2 separate regions of the Homo sapiens genome follow, and region 2 is linked to region 1. Evidence: promoter capture Hi-C in human tissues and cell types (Jung and others, 2019). All regions are on one chromosome and are shown on one strand. Each heading gives the region's core, a stretch centred on a gene start or on the middle of the fragment in contact. The rest is flanking DNA. Distances are from core to core; before and after follow the strand shown. Region 1 holds the start of EVC2 (EvC ciliary complex subunit 2). Region 2 overlaps STK32B (serine/threonine kinase 32B).

The links. Contacts are between HindIII fragments. The study calls those that stand out against the background at their distance.
Region 2: a fragment that was not itself captured here is called in contact with the fragment with the promoter of EVC2 in region 1 in 1 of the 25 tissues and cell types used here (dorsolateral prefrontal cortex).

Annotation. Positions count from the first base shown.
Region 1 is chr4:5,706,457-5,710,722 of GRCh38, forward strand. It overlaps EVC2 (EvC ciliary complex subunit 2), which reads right to left and starts at 2,103. Exons shown (of 22, transcript NM_147127.5): 1 at 1,830-2,103. The coding sequence starts at 2,057. RefSeq lists silencers at 1,723-2,102, 2,143-2,192 and an enhancer at 2,043-2,662. The HindIII fragment of the contact is 11,868 bases long and covers 1-4,266 here.
Region 2 is chr4:5,398,393-5,402,658 of GRCh38, forward strand. All of the region lies in intron 5 of STK32B (serine/threonine kinase 32B), which reads left to right. Among named protein-coding and RNA genes, the nearest start is that of LINC01587, 120 kb to the right of the region's middle. The HindIII fragment of the contact is 3,188 bases long and covers 708-3,895 here.

The sequences.
Region 1 (4,266 bases), core at 853-3,352:
CATACATACATACATACATAGATAATATTGAATGAATGGATGGATAGATGGTATCAAGTAATTACATGAAGGCATCATATAATTACAATAGGAAGAACTAACCTGTGCCTTCGGGAACTGTGCTCTGGGAACAGCCCTTACACCATTGCTCAGAAGAGGAAGCAGAGACCCTGAGGGCTGTGACTTGTCCCAGGCCCCACAAGAGGGAGTGGCCAAGGCAGGGACACACATGGCCAGAGCTCTTTCCTGTACAGTGTGCAGAAGGGCTATGCAAGACAGGCCCAGAGAGACGGAAGAAGGCTGGTCCCATCAACAGCTGGGATGGGCGTGGGCAGGGCCAGGGCCCAGGGGACGTGCTCAAGATGCCAAGGGCACCTGAATACAGGTGCTCATTCCCAGATTCCTGCAAAGGCAGGGGTTGCCCTTGAGGGTGAGGTACTCTACACCCACCATGGTCCTAGATGGCTTCAGGCCCTTCCCAGTAGGCACCGTCCCTCCCTTCTGGCAGGGACCACCCTCAACACCACTGTGGCTGACAGAGGCCAATGTGCACCAGGATTTCTGACACTGGCTTCCCAGAAGGAAGAGCTTGTGCAAAGCAGGTGAGGCCAGGCACGCAGGCTCTGAACTCGGGGGCCAGAGAGAGAGTACAGGACAGGCCTGGGGACGCGGCTCCCTGAGCCTTGGTTTTGTCACCTGCAAAACGGGCCAGATACTCCCATCTCACAGGGCAGATGCAAGTGAAAGGACCCAGGGAACATGTTCTGTCATTGGACTTTTGAAAGCTCAGGACACTGACATGGCGTTTTTCCAGTGAAAACCTAAAGACAGAAAGGGAGCAGGGTCTCTTTTAAGAGACTAAACCTCTGCCAGTGTCGCAAGTGTCCTGGGGTAGAGAACACAGCAGGACACGACCCACCACCCTAGGAGAGAGGTGGGAGGACCTCAGGGCAGCATCAATGGGCCAGACCATTGGCCAGGGCAGTCCTGGGAATAGGAGCCTGGGTGTGCTGTCAGGGGCAATAAGGTGGAGAGAAGAGTGCCAGCATGGGACAGGAGTGGCAGAATGTCTACCAGGACAGACCACCCCAGAGGTCTGGGGGAAAATGGATGGGAGACGTGGGAAAACCATCACCAAGGGCTGGAAGTGAAGTGGTGGGACCTGAAGCCAGGGAGTGGCAGTGGGGAGTGAGGAGGGGCAGACATCCGAGCTGATTTGGAGGAAAAGGCACTAGGACTGGTGACCAGCTTTGTCGGGGGAGGTCAAGTCTAGGGCTACAGCCAGGGATCCATGCCTTTCGAGTTTAGGACCACAGAGGGAGGGCCAGGGTGAAGTAGGAAGTGGCTAAATCCATCAGCCAGGAGAGTTCAGTCACCTAAGAGTCCAGCCAAGAGCCCCCACTTTTAAAAACCGCTGCAATTTCCCAGTGCTGGCCTCTGCAAGGGGCTCTGCATATGTGAGCTCATCTAACCCACTTCCACCCTCTGGGGTGGACGCCGCGACGGCCCCGTTTCAACGATCAGGAAACTGGGGCACAGGAGTGAACTGCCCTAGGTCGAAGCTCGTAAAATGGAGAGCAGGATTCGAACCAGGGTCGCTGGTGAAGTCCAAGCCGGCAGCTGCCACACCCCGAGGAAGGTCTCCAGTTTCCCTCGAAGCTTTCTGGCCGTGAGCGGGATACACCTAAGGGCCGCGAAGCACCCTATTCAGATCCTGCCCTCCCTTCCTCATTCTTTGCGAAATACTAAGGGTCCTCCCTGCCACCGCCGGTGTAGACAAAGTCAAACCACTACAGTCAGACCGGAGCCTGGGGTCGGGCCCTCCTTACCTGCGTGCTGCTCTCGGGCCCCGCCCCGCTCCGCCCCGGAGGGATCCTCAGGCCGGGCCCAGACCTAGGAGCCACCTGGGGATCCCGGGGTGGCTGCGCGCCGAGGGGGCGCCAGCGGGGACGTGAGCTGGCGCCGAGACAGCCTCGGCCCCCCAGCGCCAGGGCCACTGCCAGGAGACCCCCGGCCAGCACCCACGTGGGGCGCCCCCGGGAGCCCGAGGGGTCCATCGCCTGTCGGGACCCGCTACCTCAAAGCGGCGGGTGCCGCCGAGTCGCTGGAGCTTCCGGACCCCAGGCCCGCCCCGCCGCCGAGCATGCTCAGTGCGAGCCGCCGCCGAAAGTTTTCTGGAACAAACACCCGCATCTGGGGCTTGGCGGGCCAGGAGGTGCCGGACGGGCGTGGGAGGGGGAGAGCGAGTTGGCGCGGCCCAGGCGCCCGGCGGCCAGGCCTGGGTTTGCTTGCGCCCAAACCGAATCAGAGCGGGTCACTCCCCTGCTCCCCGAGGTTACCAGGACCCCAAGGGCCCCTCCGCTACCGCCTACCTGGGTCTGTAAGCCTCAGCTCAGACGCACTTCCCCTGGGAACGGTTTCCTGACACACGGATGTGAATCCAGAGTTTCCCCATCCCCGCTTAGAAAACGGAGAAGCATTTGGAGCGCGGGGCCGGGAGTCCTGGAGCACCCAGAAGGTTCAGGAAAGCTCGGGGAGGAGGGGGTGGCCGCAGAGAAGGAAAAGGACCCTCACTTCCGGTTGCGTTCAGTGCAGACCAGCTGAGCACCCACTGCCCGAGCCTGCTGTGGGTCAGCCCTGGGCCGGCCCGGGTGCCCCTCGCATTCCCAGTGGGAAACAGGCCAGCCGCTGGGCCACCTCTCTGGGGACCTAGAAAGAGGGGAGCTGGTGTCTGAAGTCGCAGCCCTAAGCAAGCTCTCCCTGAACTCTCCGAGGGGACAGGGATTTGCTTTGCCAAGGGACGCAGGAGGAGGAGGAGGAGAAAGACACAAAAAGGGGGACTGGTGGAGCCTTTTGTGTGCTTCCTCATCCCTGCCTAGGTCCTGGGTGACAGCTGACACCTGTTGACGGGGGAGGGCTCCACTCCCGCCAGCCTTCCTGCGGGGCAGGCTGTTAGGCTGTCTATAAAGTCTCAGGCCAGCGAGCCTGGCCCCTGGCAGCCTCTCTCCCCATAACCCAGACCATCCAAGGACAGGCCTTTCCTGACCTAACATGGACAAGGCCATGGGGTTCGAGAAGCTGAGAATTTATAAGCCAAGTTCCCCACACCAGGGGGTACGTGGCAGCTGTCAGGCATGTGACAAGACCACAGGCTAAATGCCAAGCATGTTGCTGGACCGTTGGAGTTGTTTGACAGTCAGTCATTTAAAGGTTAATTTAATAGTCAACAACTTTATGATAAAGTAAAAAGCAAATAACCCTACATTTAAAAAATCTCCTTAGTATTTTTTATGGAGTCAGGGTCTCACTATGTTGCCAAGACTGGTCTTAAACTCCTGGGCTCAGACAATCCTCCACTTGAGCCTCCCAAAGTGCTGGGATTACAGGCGTGAGCAACCACACCTGGCCCAAACACCACATTTTAAAAACTAAAGCCTAAGCATTCATGGAAATGTAAAACAAGAGCGTCAAGTTATTGCCCCCATACATGTCCCCAGGAACCTTGGAGATGCTTCTAAGGTAATATATAAGAAGCTCCACATAGCAGAGAGTTTGCCCTGAAGCCAGACACAGGTGTAAATGAGACAAGAATTCTGCCCCACTCCTTAATTGCAAATGAGTCACCTCTCCTCTCCAGCTGTCAGTTTCTTCATTTATTAAAAAAAGATGAAGAATTTGGATAACAGTTCCCATCTTGCCATGAGGAAATGATGAAACAAACTAGAAACAAGCTGGACATCTAGGCTGAAAGGACAAAGCCCTCCTCTGCTGAAGCAGATCCCCATGGTGTCCCCTAGCCCGGCCCACACAGGGAATTAAGCTCCACAGGGTAGGTGTGTGTGTGTGTGTGCCCCTGAGTGCAAGTGTGCAGTCGTGCATGTGCATGTGTGCTTTACCCAGGCACCCAGGACAAAAGCAAACATCTAGTAGCTACCCCATAAATGTTTGTTTAAAGCAAACACAGTGATGAACTCCTTTAATTTTTTATCACTCTAAACAACTGTGAGATACTCACTAGCCTGGACACTGCCTGGTTTGTGGCTGGCCTATCCCCCAGCCTGCAACACACACACAACAGATTCTCTCCAAGTGCTGAGTAAATGAAGGATGGTGCAGTGTCCTGGTCCTAGTGGGGAGCGGGTGTAAGGGTCTCTTTATCCATTGTCTCAGTGGGGAGTGGGTGTAAGGGTCTCTCTACCCTTGGTCCTAGTGGGGACTAGGTGTAAGGGTCTCTCTACCCATCGTCTCAGTGGGGTCTGGGTGTAA
Region 2 (4,266 bases), core at 1,052-3,551, 310 kb before region 1:
TCTGTGTAAATTTCTGGTCCATGTCCTGCCGTGGTAAGTTGAATCAAAGTTATTTAAACTGTTCGCATCTGAAGTCATTGCTGTTCATATCCCCGTGTGAGGAGGACAGGGCCGCCGTGAGGATGAGCCCGGGGTTCCAACCCCAACTCCCTCACCTATGAACGTGTGGCTTCAGAAGTCACCCACCTCTCTGAGCCTCAGTGTAATTTTCTGTAAACTGGGGAGAAGGCACCTCCCTTGCAGGGTGTTCATGAGGGTGAAATGAGAGTACACACTCATTTCTAGCAAGCAGAGCTTAATACTTGATAATCCACTAAGCATTTACTCATCTATCGGCTATGTCAGGCTTCTCAAAATTTCCTTTATGTGCACACAGATCTCCTAGGCATCTTCTCAAACTGATTTAGTAAGTCTGAGATGGGACTAGACTCTGCAAAGTCCAGAGTCTGCAAAGCTCCCAGGTGGCTGATGCTGCTGGTCCATGGACCACACCTTGAGTAGCAAGGCACCAAGTCAGTGGCTCTCCAACTCTGGCCTTACCAGAATTACCTGGGGGACCTGGTAAAAATCAGAGGTCAGGCCCGGTCCTGCTTCAGCAAGCCTGGGCTCCTGTGTTCTGGATCCTGTGTCCTGTGTTGGGATGGAATGCCCACAAAGTTTAAGAACCATGAGCCTAGGGCTCAGATCAAGAATGCTCAGTGGACTTGACAATCAATTGTGGCTGATGCCAACAGGAGACTTACAGCCTTCAAAACTAAATTCACTGGCATTGCTTCAGGGGCCCGTCTCTCAGGGCCTAACATGGGGTTGGCTGGAGGGAGCAGGTGCGAATTCTTCTGAAGTAGGGATTCTCATCCCTGCTGAGGCCTTCAGGGATGAATGAGTCACATTTTCTACGCAGCTCCCCCACCCTCCTTCCCCACCTCTGCAGGCTGAGGTCATGGTTCTATCTCAGAGCTCCTCTCGAACCTTCCATGAGCCAGCAGCATAGCTTGGGGCATCCTAACCTCATAGTGTGCATCCCTATGTACAGGAGTGGTGGATGGGACCATTTGCATCTCTGCATCAGATGCTGGAACCAGACTAAGTGCTTTGGGGGCAGTAGGATTGAACTCACTGTGCTCCTGAATGGAAGGTCAGCAGCAGCCCCAAGATGCCTGGGGCATGGACAGAGCTGAGGATCCAAATCAAGGCTGGAAAGGAAGCGAAAGCAACGTCTCCAGTTTGTATCTAAAAGTCAGGATCTTCAGATGTGGCACTCAGCTGAGCCCCCAGCCAGCTGAATGTCCTTGGGCCAGTGGCTGTACCTCCGTGTCTCAGCCTTCCCAGCAGCGATGCAGAAGTAATTGACCCACCTTGCAGGGTGGTGAATGTCTCATCTCGGGTGAGACTCGAAGGTCAGCCACCCATCACAGTATGCAAGCGCTCGGGAAGGGGTAGATAACTCGCCCTCTTCCTGTCCCCTTTCTCTGCTCAGGGCCAGGCAAGGTCAAATCACAGAAGCAGGGTAAAGAGGTGAGAAAACACAGAGGCTGGTTCTGCTTAGCTGTCTGGAAAGCAGGGGTCTGGAAGGCTGGGTTCCAGGCAGCATCCTCAAGGCTCTGTCCTATTAAGAGAGACCGCTAGGGGGAGACTTCCTGGCCCTGCAAAGCGGTCCAGAAGCAAAATTCAGACAGAAACATCAATAGCAATAAGCTAGCCATTGCACTGATGAGGAAAAGTGACACAGAGAGTATGGGGGTAACCCAGGACTGCCTGGCTTCATAGTTCTGGCTCCATCCTCACAGACCTTGGCCACAGCTCCCCTGAAGCTGCTGCACAAAAGATATAGGCAGGCGGGCTGCTCCCAGGCAGCCTCCCCTAGGTTTTCTCTTTCCTGCCTTTTGGATTTCCATCCATCCCATTCCGCCTCCCTTTCTGTACCCATTCTCAGCCTCCACCTCAGCCTTCCCCACATTCTTTCTGCATCTCGTTCTGCCCCCTTGAGCTCCTCATCTTTTTCCACCCCCTGCTTGGCCTTCACAGTGTCCCAGCCCTGCCTTCTGGCTATGCAGCACCCCACACACTCCCCAAGTGCCCCTGCATCCAGTCTTCTCCCTCTCCAGCCTCCCATTTCATCGAAAAGTCTCTGCTAGCTGGTGGGACAGAGCGTTGAATATAATATTTCATACTGTGAGGTGAATGGCTGATAACCCTTCCCCACTCCAACACTCAATGAGTGGCTTTGCAGGTGGTACAGAAAAGAAATTTAGGAGCAGGGAATTCCGCTCAGAAAAAGAAGAGTCTCCTTTCTGGGGAGAGAAGAGAAAGAGAGAATTCTATGCCCATGGCCCTCCTTTACCTGCTCTTCTGAGGGGAGCTGATCGGCTTTTTGAGCAGAGCCTGAAGCTGGCCATTCTTGCCTTTGTCTTTCCCTCAGTAAACATCTCTTGAGCACCTGCTGTGTGCCAAGTTCTGGTTAACAGAATGATGAACAAGGCAAACAGGGTCCCAACGCTGATGGGTTTCATGGTGTTGGGGAGAGTGTGGGGAAGCTCAGGAGAGGTCGGGCAGAGGGGAGAGGGAAAGGTGTGTGCGGGGTTGTCTTAGAGGCAGCCGCATGACAGTGGGATCCTGAAGGCATGACAAGGCCAAACAGAGGAAGGTGCCTGGATGGACAGGTGGTAGAGACAGTGGGGCAGAACTGCAGAAACAAGAGGGGAATGGCTGTTTGAGGAATACAACAGCAGTTTATTTTGTAGGTTTATAACATTTAAAATTAATCTTATGCCTTCAAAACCTTCACTGTGAAACATGACCTAGCCATAAGATGAGCAGGACAGTATGTGTTCCTAAATGAGTCCTAAGGGCACCCCATTCGTGCTGGCATCTACTTGCACCTTTTGTAAACTGCATGACAAAACCTTTTACAAACCAATAACTGTGTATTGCTATTTCAAGAGTTCCATCATTGGTTGCATTGAATACTTTCTCAGAGAACAAGTTGGTCAGTTGTGTTTCAAATGAAATATAAACATAATTAAACAAATGCATTAATATTTTATTAATGATGTCCAAAATCTGCTAGTTACACAAAATCCAAGCATCTCTCACAAGCTTCTCTGCTCCCCTAGTGTCTGCCTTACTTTCTGATCTTTCAGGGTTTTATGTCTTGGAATGGACACTTTCATTCTGCTCTGAGATTTGAGGTCTCTGAGCCAGCTGCAAAAGCAGAGAGATACCACGCATTGAGGTAAAATAGAGTGAAAGAAGATACAGCATCTCAGAACAAGGCAGGGAAAAGAGCTGAGTGCATTTTAGGCTGAGGATCATAAGATCAAGACAATGGGGAATTTAAAGACATAGAGGGAGGGGGGAAGCAATTGTATTGATTTTCTATTGGTACAATAAAGCTGGGTAATGAACCACATAACTTAAATCGCATAAACAAAAAACATCCCGTTAGCTCACAGCATCCTGGGGTTGAGGGACTCTAGGCTGGGCTTGGCTGATCTTGGCTGGGCTTGCTCCTAAGACCAAGGTTGGGTAGGCAGGACTGTTGATGTTGGCTAAACCCACTCCAATGTCTGAGGCTCAACTGGCTGTCAGCCGATCCCCTCTGGCCTTGGCTGGCTGGCCGGGTGACTCAGCCCTGCTCCTTGAGCTTATCCCCTGCAAGTTCATCTGCATGGTCTGCTCATGGCCATAGCAGGAGCAAGAGCAGGAGAGCCCAGCCACTCAAGCCTCCACCTGTGTCGTGTTTGCCACCAATGCAGGAGACAAAGCGAGTCACTTGGCCAAACCTAGAGTCAGAGAGACTAGACATTGCAAAGGCACATGGCAATGGGGTGATCCAGAGAGGGGTGAACAATTGAGGCCATTAATGCAGTTGCCTAACAGGAGGGTGATGGAAGAGGCCAGTGGAAATGGAATGGATGGAGCCACAGGCACAGGCCGGTGGGTTAGTGCTTTCCACATGGGAGGTGGACTTCCCCAAAGGTGGGCAAGGAGAGAAGAGTGAGAGACAGAAGGAAAGAGGCTGTATTTTGCACTTAAGTGCCACTGAGGGCCCTGGTTCAAAGGTCATTTATGATGACCATAAAGAATGTAGTCTTCGTCCTCTTTGGGAAGTGGTTCGCTTGTTGCACACCTGCCATGGCCAGGCATTGTGTCCAGTGACCACAGAAGGCAGAGTCCCTGTGGCCGAGGAACTCATGGTCTGGGGTGACTGTTCTCTGTCCTGGTGGCACATCACCTGGGTCCTAAGACCCCACCTTGAGAAGCTCT